2 separate regions of the Homo sapiens genome follow, and region 1 is linked to region 2. The links are contacts of gene promoters, found by promoter capture Hi-C in human tissues and cell types (Jung and others, 2019). All regions are on one chromosome and are shown on one strand. Each heading gives the region's core, a stretch centred on a gene start or on the middle of the fragment in contact. The rest is flanking DNA. Distances are from core to core; before and after follow the strand shown. Region 1 overlaps KCNIP3 (potassium voltage-gated channel interacting protein 3). Region 2 holds the start of FAHD2A (fumarylacetoacetate hydrolase domain containing 2A).

Region 1 (5,370 bases), core at 2,303-4,802, 37 kb before region 2:
GCCTTTTGCTGCATGCACGTGGAGGCAGACATAGCTGTCTCTCCTACCCTTTTTTTTTTCTTTTTTTTTTTGAGATGGAGTCTTGCTCTGTCACCCAGGCTGGAGCGCAGTGGTGTGATCTCAGCTCACTGCAAGCTCCGCCTCCTGGGTTCAAGCGATTCTCCTGCCTCAGCCTCCCGAGTAGCTGGGATTACAGGCATGCACCACTATGCCCGGCTAATTTTGTATTTTTAGTAGAGACAGGGTTTCTCCATGTTGGTCAGGCCGGTCTCGAACTCCCGACCTCAGGTGATCCGCCCACCTCGGCCTCCCAAAGTGCTGGGATTACAGGCATGAGCCACCACACCCGGCCTCTCTTACTCTTCATATAAGGCTACCAATCTTATGGGATAAGGGCCCAACCTTGTGACCCCACGTAACCTTGGTTACCTCCTAAGGACCCTATCTCCAAATACAGTCACACTGGGGGTTAAGACTTCAACGATGAAGTTGAGGGGACACAGTTCAATCCTATGCACTAGTAAACAGAAATCTGCATATGCACCCCTCGCATGCACAGTTCACGGTAGGGTTTGCGCTCCTATGAGAATTTAATGCCGCTGCTCATCTGACAGGAGGTGAAGCTCAGGCAGGAATGCGAGCAGTGGGGACCAGCTGTAGATACAGATGAAGCTTCACTTGCTCACCTGCCGCCCACCTCCTGCTGTGCAGCCCAGTTCCTAACAGACCACCGACTAGTACTGGTCCTCGGCCCAGGGAGTTGAGGACCCCTGCACTAGAGTGTTTCAGAATTACCATTGATCTACATATTTGCCAAAAAAACTTATTTTTTCATTATTATTATCTCTTAGCAATCTAGGAGGTACTGCATTCTCATGCTAATTTACGTGTTCCTGTTTATTACTGAAATTGAGCCATCTTTTGGGTTTGTATCCATCTTTCTGGTTTCCCTTTCTGCTGATACCTGCTCTAGAGATTCTTCTTTCATCATTTGTGAACACTCTACGCTATCTTCTTCTATTCTGTTGAGTGTCTCACTCTGACCTTTGTTGAACAGAAATCTTTAATTTTGATGTAATCAGATTCATCCTTTTTTTTCCTTGTGGTTTGAGCTTTTGGAGTTTTAAGAAATCTGTCCAGAATCTTAGGTTAACAGGAGGCTCTTTTACATTTTATTATAGCTCTATCATTTACCATTCACATTGGGGTCTCTAATGCACCTGGAACCTACATTTGCATGTGGGATATGGAAGGAGTCTAGATTGTTTTCTTTATGTGGTGATCCAGTTTTCCTAACACCATCTACTAAACACTCTGACCTTTTTTCCCATAGCTTTCATGAAATTCCCTCCTACACGTCACTCTCTTTTTTGAGCTCTCTGGTCTGTTTGTTGGTACGTTTGTCTGTTCTTGTACCAACCATACAATTTTTATTACAATGACTATACAACATGTACTAGTGTCTGAGAGAAACTCCTCCCTTGTTATTTTTCTTTTTAGGTTTTTATGAATTGTTTGTTTCTCCATATACATTTCAGTGTGTGTTTATCAAGCTTTCCAAAAAAAAAATCCAACTGAATTTTTTATTGGAATTGCACTGAATTTACTTACAGATTACTTTGGGGAGAAATGACATTAATATGTGGCCATAAGATGGAATGTCTCATGTATTCAGAATATCTTTCCATGTAGAGGTCCTTTGAGTTTTTATTACTACTTAGAGATACTCTTTAGTTTTATTGCTATTGTGAGTGTTTATCTTGGTATTTTTAATTATATTTTCTAGATGGTTATTACTGGTGTAGAGAACTGCTATTGATTTTTGTATCGATTAATCTTATATCTGGCAACCTTACTGAACTCTCCTGTCTGTTGATTCTTTTAGTCCCTCTGGGGACCCTATCATCTAAATAATGTTAATTTTATCCTTTACTTCTCAATTCGTACACTATTTATTTCTTTTCTAAATTTCCTAAGAGCATTGGCAGGACATTGATTAGTGGGGACTGTGGCCAAACTTGTCCCAAATATTAAAGGGAATGTATCTAAGCTTTTGCCATTAAATCCAATATTTTCTGTAATTTTTTTTGTAAATATGTGATTTGCAAATATAAGCAAATCACGTTAAAGAACTTCCCTTTGACTCCTGGTTTGCTGAGAGTTTTTTTTGGTCATCGTTTATTTTAATTATAAATAGACATGAAAGCTTATCAAATGCCCTTTCTGCATTAAGATTTTCATGTGATTTTTCCTCTTTATGTTCTTCCAGATAAAATCTTCTTGATCATGATGTACTTAAAAAAATGCCATTGGCTTCATTTAGCTAACATTTGGTTTAGGGTTTTGCATCTGTGTTCAAAAGTGGCATTAGGCATACGTTGTTCACTCTCACTCTTGCGTTTTCTGATATGGTTTGGATGTTTGTCCCCCCCCACATCTCATGTTGAAATGAATCCCCAATGTTGGAGGTGGGGACTAGTGGGAAGTATTGAATCACGGGCGCGGATCCCTCCTGAATGGCCCAGCACCATGCTCATGGTAATGAGTGAGTTCTCTCCATGAGTTCATGTGAAATCTGACTTTTATACAATTTATATAATACATTAAAGAGCCTGGCACCTCCTCCCTTGTGTCTCTTGCTTCCATTCTTGCCACGTGACCTGCTTGCTCCCTCTTCACCCTCCATCACGATTGGAAGCTTCCTGAGGCCCTCACCAGAGGCAGATGCCAGCACTGTGCTTTGTGTACATCCTGCAGAACCACAAGTGAAATAAACGTCTTTTCTTTATAAATAATGCAGTCTTGAGGATCACTTGAGCCCAGGAGTTTGAGACCAGCCTGGGCAACATGACAAAACCCTGTCTCTATTATAAATAAAAAAAATTAGCTGGTTATAGTGGTGTGTGCCTGTAGTCTCAGCTACTTGGGAGACTGAGGTGGGAGGATCACCTGAGCCTGGAAGGCTGCAGTGAGCTGTGATTGCACCACTGCACTCCAGCCTGGACAACAGAGTGAGACCCTGTCTCAAAAAAATAAAAAATTTACCTAGTCTCAGGTATTCCTTTCTAGCAATGCAAGAATGGATTAACACCTTGTCCTTATGTCTTTTTTTTTTTTTTTTTTTTTGAGACAGAGTCTCTCTCTGTTGCCCAGGCTGGATTACGGTGACATGATCTCAGCTCACTGCAGCCTCCGCCTTCAGGGTTCAAGCAATTCTCCTGCCTCAGCTTCCCAAGTAGCTGGGATTACAGGCGTGCACCACTGTGCCCAGATAATTTTTGTATTTTTAGTAGAGACGGGGTTTCGCCATGTTGGCCAGGCTGGTCTTGAACTCCTGGCCTCAGGTCATCCACCCGCCTCGGCCTCCCAAAGTGCTGGGATTACAGGCATGAGCCACCGCACTTGGCCCCTTATGTCATTTTTTAAATCAAAATTACAATATTGACCACATGGAGATCATCCACGATCCTTGTAAGAGCAGTTTTCTTGGAGTGGAGTAAGTTTGAGGGAGAACAGGAGGAGAGGAAGTGAAGGCAGGGAGTTACAGGAGGTGAGAAAAAGGCTTAGGGGAAAATATGGTCAAGGAGTTTTGTTGTTTTTAATGGAAGAAATAGCAGCAGGTTTGGAGTTTCTGTCTTATTTTGTTTCTTGGCCCTCGGGAAAGAGGATTAAGTTCATCCTACTCTGTAGTTCATGGGATATCATCAGCCTTGACCCATTTACAGCCTCTCATTTGTTTTTCCTCTTTTACACCCCTATTTCCCTCCTCCCCATAGCTAAGTATTCTCATTTTTTCTAATTTAAATTAATGTAAAATTTACCTTTTTGGCTGTCTAGTTCTATGAATCTCGATACATGCATAGTCATGTAACCATTACCACAATCAAGATGTGGAACAATTTATTTTAATTTAATTTAATTTTAATTTTTATTTACTTACTTAGTTTTTGGAGATGGGGTCTCTGTCGCCCAGACTGGAGTGCAGTAGTGTGATCCTAGCTCATGGCGGCCTTGAACTCCAGGGCTCAAGCAGTCCTCCCACCTCAGCCTCCTGAGAGGTAGGACTACAGGTGTGCACCACCACACCGGGCACCTGGCGATATAGAACAATGTCGTCACCACAAAAAATTGCCTTATGCTGCCTCTTTGGTAGTCAGCCCCCAGGCAGCCACTGATCTGTTCTCTTTCCCTGTAATTTTCTGTCCTTTTATCTTTTCCAGACTGTCCCATGGATGTTGTCAGACATGATCTGCCTCTGGAGTCTGGACTCTTTCACGTCATTGCATGTGCGATTCATTCATGTTTTGCGTGTGTCAGGAGTTTGTTCCGTATTGTTGCTGAGTATCTTTCCTTGTGTGATGTACCACAGCTCATCCACTCACCAGTTGGAGGGCATTTGTATATACAGTTTGGGGCAATTTTGAATAAAATTGCTCTAAACATTTGCCTAAAGTTGAATATAGTAGCTTTCATTTCATTTGGGTAAATAACCAGAAATGGGATTGCTGGGTCTTATGGGAAGAGCCTCTTTATAAGAAAGTGGCAACGTGATTTCCAGCATGGCAGTACCACTTCTCTCTCCTGCCAGCAACATATAGTGGTTCCCGTCGCTCTGCATCCCCCCACTGCAAGCGCCCGACATTGTCAATATTTGTTATGTAAGCAATTCTCATAGGTATATAGCAGTATTTCACTGAGGTTTCAATTTGCATTTCCTTAATGGAAAATGATGCTAATCCTCTTTCTTGTGCTTATTTTATCAGCGTTTTATCCTCTATAGTGAAGTGTTTGATTAGGTTTTTTGACATTTACTAATTTGAGTTCTTTGATTTCTTACTGCAGAGTTTTGAGACTTCTTTATATATTCTGTATATCCTTTGTCAGATATGCAGTTTGCAAAGGTAATATTTTCTCCCAGTCTGTGCTTACCTTTTTATTTAACAATATCTTTGTAATCCCAGCACTTTTGGAGGCTGAGGTGGCCGGATCACTCAGGAACTCCTGAGGTCAGGAGTTCGAGACCAGCCTCGCCAACATGGTGAAATCCTGTCTCTACTAAAAATACAAAAACTAGCTAGGTGTGGTGGTGCGTGCCTGTAGTCCCAGTTACTCGGGAGACTGAGGCAGGAGAATCACTTGAACTCGGGAGGCAGAGGTTGCAGTGAGCTGAGATCATGCCACTGCACTCCAGCCTGGGCGACGGAGCCAAACTCTGTCTTAAAAAAATAATAAAATAAAATAAAAATAAAAAAACCAATATCTTTATTCTTCTTTCACAAAATTATTTTAGCTATTCTAGTTCCTCTGTCTTTCTAGATAAATTTTAGAGCATGTTGTCTGTATGTACAAAAAAACTCTTGCTGGGATTTT
Region 2 (6,051 bases), core at 2,472-4,971:
TGAGCCACCACGCCTGGCCTGTAGTCCCTTCTTATCCATGGTTTTGCTTTCTGAAATTTCAGTTACTCAAGGTCATCCATGGCCCAAAAATATTAACTGGAAAATTGCAGCAATAAGCAATTCATAAGTTTTAAATTGTGTGCTGCTCTGTGTACTGTGATGAAATCCTGCACTGTCCTGCTCCATCCTACCTGGGACAAGAATCATTCCTCTGTTCAGCTTTTCCATGACGTCTGCCCTCCTTGCCCCTTAGTCACCAATGAGCTGGCTCCGTGATTAGATCCACTGTCGTGGTACCGCAGTGCTTCTGTGCAAGGCACCATCATCTGACTTCATAATGGCCCCAGAGCAAAAGGGGAGTGGTGTCGGCATTTCCGATATGCCAAAGAGAAGCCTTCCTTTATGGGAACGCTCCTGACTTAAGGAAATAAAACAAAAATCACATAATGAGGTTGCTAAGAGCTACAGAAAGAACGAATCTTCTATCCATGAAATTGTGAAGAAGGAAAAAGAAATTTGTGCCAGTTTTGCTGTCGCACCTCAAACTGCAAAAGTTATGGCTACAGTGTGTGAGAAGCACTTAGTTAGGATGGAAAAGGCATTAGATTTGTGGGTGGAAGACGTGAACAGAAACATATTCTGATTGAACAGCAACCGTGTAGCACCAGGTTAACTTCATCTGGATTAAATTTGATCACTGGCATGTATATATAGGAAAAGACGTAGCAGATGTAGGGTTTGGTACTATCTGCAGTTTCAGGCGTCCTCTAGGGGTCTTGGAAAGTACCCCCCAAGGATACTCTATACAAATGAAATAATTCCATATGTACTCATTTTTAATCTCTTTTTCACTCTGAATAATTATCTTGATATATATCCATGTTGCATCAACAATTTGTCCCTTTTCATTGCTGGGTAGTATTCCCTAGTGTGGCTATAACAGAGTGTTTACACATTCACCTGTTAATGAAAAATTGAGTTGTTTCCAGTTTGGGGATTTTGTAAAAAGGCTGCTGTGAACATTTCTGTATAAGCCATTGCATAAGCATTTTTTTTAAATTTCTCAGGTAATTACTATAAAACAAAAAAACAAATCTGGATTATATAAGGAGCGAATTTATTCCAAAGGATTGTTGTGGGGGTGACCATTGCAATAGGGAAACGTTGCAGTGCGGCCACTCGCAGGCTTCCCATATGATCTGCAAGTGTCTCAGAGGTTAGGCAAAGGGCTGATCTTGTATAGGGAGGCGTAAACGTGGCTAGAAAGAACTGTTATGGGAAAGTGGGCTGAGCAAGAGTGTCACGATCGAGGAGGTCTTACCCTGCGGACAGCCTGTTCTCAGGAGGGAACCTCAGGAGGGCTGCGGGTTGGCACAAGCTGTGGGTGGGCCAAAGCTCAAGGGCTTGGAAAAGGAGAGAATCTGAACCAAGGTTTGGTTACAGGCTTTTGTTCTTATTGATCTGTGGGACAAGCAGCCCAGCTAATCATTTATGAGGCCAAGAATGGGAATTTAGAGGGTCTGTGTCTGGCCTGGTCACAGATAAACAAGGGAGCATCTGGGAGTCTTATCCAGGTTATATAGAAAGTCACTGGTTCTTTCCAGTAGGGGGTTTTCTGGAACAAAAGAGTGGTGGGATTCCTTAACCTTCACTATTTCTAGAAGCAAAGGGCTAAGGTAAAATTCAATACTGTCAATAGTCAGGATTGAAATGGCTACATCATATGGTAGGTGTATGTTTAATTCTCTTCATACACTGACAAATGGTTTTCGATCGTGGTGGTACTATTTTATAATCCCATCAGCAGTGTACAAGAATCCCAGGTCCTCCACATTCTTGCCAGTACTTGGTATAATCAGTCTTCTTTGTCCATTCTAGTAGGTGTGAGATGGTGTCACATTGCGCTTGCAATTTGCATATCCTTAATGATTAATGATGTTGAGCATCTTTTCATGTCCTAATTTTTTCTTTCTTTTTTTTTTTGAGACAGAGTCTTGCTTTGTCGCCCAGGCTGGAGTGCAGTGGCACGATCTCGGCTCACTGCAAGCTCCACCTCCCGGGTTCCCGCCACTCTTCTGCCTCAGCCTCCCCAGTAGCTAGGACTACAGGCGCCCACCACCACGCTCGGCTAATTTTTTGTATTTTTAGTAGAGATGGGGTTTAACTGTGTTAGCCAGGATGGTCTCGATCTCCTGACCTTGTGATCCGCCTGCCTCGGCCTCCCAAAATGCTGGGATTGCAGGCGTGAGCCACTGCGCCCAGCCTTCATGTCCCAATTTTCTGTCTGTATATCTTATTTGATGAAATGTCAGTTCAAATATTTTGTCCATCTAAAAAATTGAATTGTTTGATTTTATCTACTGACTTTTAAGCATTCTTTCTATATTCTGGATACAAGTCTTTTTATCAAATATAGCCTTTACAGATATTTTCTTCCAGGCTGTAACTTAGCTTTTCAGAAAGTCTTTGGGAGCTATGGCTTAGTGAAACCCTTGTGCCAGGTTCTCCTCAGCGAATCCCCCTGATCACAGCCACCCCCATAGGTTCCATTTCAATATCTGTGGTGACCTTCTGCAAGCTAGGCTGAAGTCCCAAGCTCCAGACCCATGTCTCCAACTGCCCACCGTTCAATGCCCTTTGGATGTCCCATGCAAATCGGAGCTCACCATCCTCTCCCCAGACCCGCTGCTCCTCCAGGAGCCCTGTCTCCATGAACGGCCCTGCACCTACCGAGCTAGAGACCCAGGAGTTGGCCTTGTACCTCCTTCCTTCTCACTTCCACCTCCTGTCATTCAGAGCTGTCAGTTCTTCCTCCTGAACATCTCTGGACACTCACCTTCTCCACCACGCACCGCACCACCATTGTTCTCAACCGCACCACCCACCCAGACACCTTTCCTCAGACGGGTGGCCAGAGAAAAACTTCTCAAATAGAAGTCGGGACATGGCACGCCACTGAGAACCTTCCAGCGGTCTCCTGTGCACGTAAACAAGGTCCAGACTCCTTCGTGGGACAAGTAAAGCTCTTGATGATCTGGTCCTTGAGTAATGTGGGGGCCACTTGTACAGAGCCCCTCACACTGTTCAAAGTCGGCAGCTGAAGAGCTGAGCAGTAGCTGTCTGTGGAGTTCAGCTGCCACTCCCTACACGCCTGCCCTCTGCAGGGGATGGAGTCCCGTTTCCCCACTTCCCCACCTGCGCCCAGCAGTGCAGGTGAAGGCCTGGCTGCGGAGAGTGGCTGGGAAACGCTGCGCTTTGGGGTCAGGAATGCCAGCTCCACTACTCACCGCCTGTGTCACCCTGGGAAAACAGCTCTGGCCCCAGGTTCTCCATAAGTAAAACGGGGGCAGTCATCCCTCCCCTCCTCAACGACATATGTCAGAATCAGAAGCCACAAATCATTCTCTGCCACCCAGCACGCTGCCTTGGTCTCCTAGACCACTTTCCCCAACAATGGGAAAGGCGCCAGGCCCAGAACAAGGCCGAGACCGGATGAGGCCAGCGAAGCGCCCAGGGACAAACCTTCGGGCAGCGCCCACTCTCGAGTTCAGGCAAGTGCAGGGTCCCTCCGAGAGAGAGCGTCTCCAGAGAACGCGGCTGGCGCCTGGCTGAACCCGTAGCCTGAAGACCCGCCGGAGCCGCCCGCCCCACGATGGGCCCGCCCCTCCGGGATTGGCGCCCTGCTAGTGGCCATTGCCTGTGACGTCACAGGATCGCGCCCGCTTTTCTCTCGGGTGATCCGGCCGAGTGGCCCTGGGTTAGCAGCTGCTGCATTTCCCCGGCTGGCTGCGGTCACTGGTGGCAGTGCTCAGGCGCCCGCCGCCCTTGACCTTCGGCCCCGCGAGCTCTAACCCTACAGCGCAGGAAGATCGGCCGCCGCGGCCAGGTAGGACGAGCCTGGCTGGGTCTAGGCCAGAAGGGTGTCCGTGGCGCCGGTCTCCCGCGGAGCGCAGAACTAGTACCGGATCCCCAGCCGCTTCTGACCACACAGACGGGGCGGACCTGTGTGAGCACTCACTAACTGTCGGGGCTGGAGCTGGGCATATGGGGAAACTGGGGGACCGGCACGGGTTCCAGGCGAGTGGACGGTGGGATGGAATCCGACGTGCACACCCATGTCTCAGGCTTTGTTTGATGGAGGCTACTGTTTCCACCTCATGTCGCCGCCCCTTTGCTTATGGACTCTTGCAGAGTTGGATTGAGCTCGGGCTGTGTGATATAGTGGTTGTTGCAGAAGCCCCAGGGCCACTTTCTGACTAGTACCTTGGGCACCTGACATCATCCCTTTGAGTCTCAGTGTCCTCTTCTTTAAAGTGAGGGCGCTCTACCTGAGGAGATTGCTGTAAGGTTGGAATGAACCTGCATGTGTGTGTCATGTGGGAAGGGAACAGTCAGTGGGGCCTGGGGTTCTCTTGGAGAGCTGGTAACCAGCCTCGTCCCTGAGGCAACAGCCAGAGGGCGCCTGTAGTTTCCCCACGCATGTCTGTTAGCAGTTACGGCCTCTGGAGGATCTCCTGTGGGAGGTCCCTACTTCTCACTACAATCTTTAGAGACTTTGGAGGATTTCCTATGGAAGGTCCCCACTTCTCACCACAACATTCTGGGTTAAAATGGCCTTGGTAGGGGGATGGGGGCTGAAGCTGGATTTTTTTGCTTGCATTACAAGCTTCTGAACCAAGGACTTCATGTCACCTGGACTTGGATTCACATCCCAGCTCCTTCCTCTCCTAGCTCTAGGACTGTGTAACCTTGGGCAAATCTCTTAACCTCTTTAAGCCTTAATTGTTTCATCTGTAAAATGAGGCTAACAGTACCTACCTTCCACAATTGTCGAGAATTAAATCAGACATTGTAGGTAGAGCACTTAATAGTTGGCATTCAGCGGCAGCAGTTACTGTTATGTTAGCATGTGGAGTGTCTGAGTGTGTGCACATTGGCTCGAACAGCCTTTTGACAGTGGCACAGTTGGTGCTTGTGTAAGACAGCAGGGCAGAGAAGTCAAAGCCCTCGGTTTTCTAGTCAAACTGGTGGGCCACAACAGTGGTGACCTAAGTCTAATGAATCTTCAACTGAACAAGGCAGATTGAATCTCCAGGTGAGGACCAAGAGTCTGGGGATCAGCTGCCTCCACATTTTTGGGCATAGAAGGCTGTACAATACCGCCTTTGTTGTAAGAGCAAGGAACCATTCAGGGAAGGCACCATGTGGTAAGGAATAGAGGCCAGACGTGGATTAAGAACAAAACAAGAGAATAGTGTTTGTCTTTAAGTGGAGCCTTGGACTCAAAACAGGATCTGAGCCCTGAGGATTTTTTTTTTTTTAATTGAGATGGAGTCTTCGTCTGTCACCCAGGCTGGAGTGCAGTGGCGCGATCTCAGCTCACTGCAACCTCCTTCCCCTGGGTTCAAGCGATTCTCGTGTCTCAGCCTCCCTAGTAGCTGGGATTACAGGTGGCTGCCACCACACTCGGCGAGTTTTTTGTATTTTTAGTGGAAACGGGGTTTCACCACGTTGGCCAGGCTGGTCTTGAACTCCTGACCTCAAGTGATCCACCCACCTCGGCCTCCCAAATTGTTAGGGATATCACGCATGAGCCACTACAACTGGCCCTTGTGGGAAGGCACAGCCATGTCTCCTGAAGTTAACAAGCACTAAGCTTTCCCAAGTAGTGAAATGTCAAGCCCCTGCTTCTGTCACTTATTTGTTCATTCAGCAGAAAGTCACTGAGAGCCTTCTGTGCACCAGGCACAGTGCTGGGCAGTGAAAGAGACAGACATGTGCCCTGGACCCAGGGAGATGACAAGTGATGGCTGTCAGGCCCAGACCCTGTTGTTTGTCTGCAGCCTCTTCCCTCAGGCAACTTGTTCTCTATCAGGAGAAACGAAATAATTATTATCTGGAGAGGCAGGTGGGGGCGCTGCTCCTAGAAGACTGGGACAGCCTGGTAGAGGTTCTAGCTTGATCATGTGAGCAGTGGAAACCATTTTAAGTAGGAGGTTAACAGGACCAAAATAGCATTTAAAAAATTGTTTATGGCCACTGTGAAGCCAG

Evidence for each region. The method cuts DNA at HindIII sites, captures the fragments that hold promoters and counts their contacts. A contact is called where the count stands out against the background at its distance.
Region 1: a contact is called between a fragment that was not itself captured here and the fragment with the promoter of FAHD2A in region 2, in 1 of the 25 tissues and cell types used here (adrenal gland).

The regions. Positions count from the first base shown.
Region 1 is chr2:95,362,054-95,367,423 of GRCh38, forward strand. All of the region lies in intron 2 of KCNIP3 (potassium voltage-gated channel interacting protein 3), which reads left to right. Among named protein-coding and RNA genes, the nearest start is that of FAHD2A, 38 kb to the right of the region's middle. The HindIII fragment of the contact is 3,502 bases long and covers 1,802-5,303 here.
Region 2 is chr2:95,398,987-95,405,037 of GRCh38, forward strand. FAHD2A (fumarylacetoacetate hydrolase domain containing 2A) reads left to right here and starts at 3,722. Exons shown (of 8, transcript NM_016044.3): 1 at 3,722-3,886. RefSeq lists enhancers at 2,492-3,431, 3,361-3,440, 3,432-4,370, 4,511-4,630. The HindIII fragment of the contact is 15,771 bases long and covers 1-5,161 here.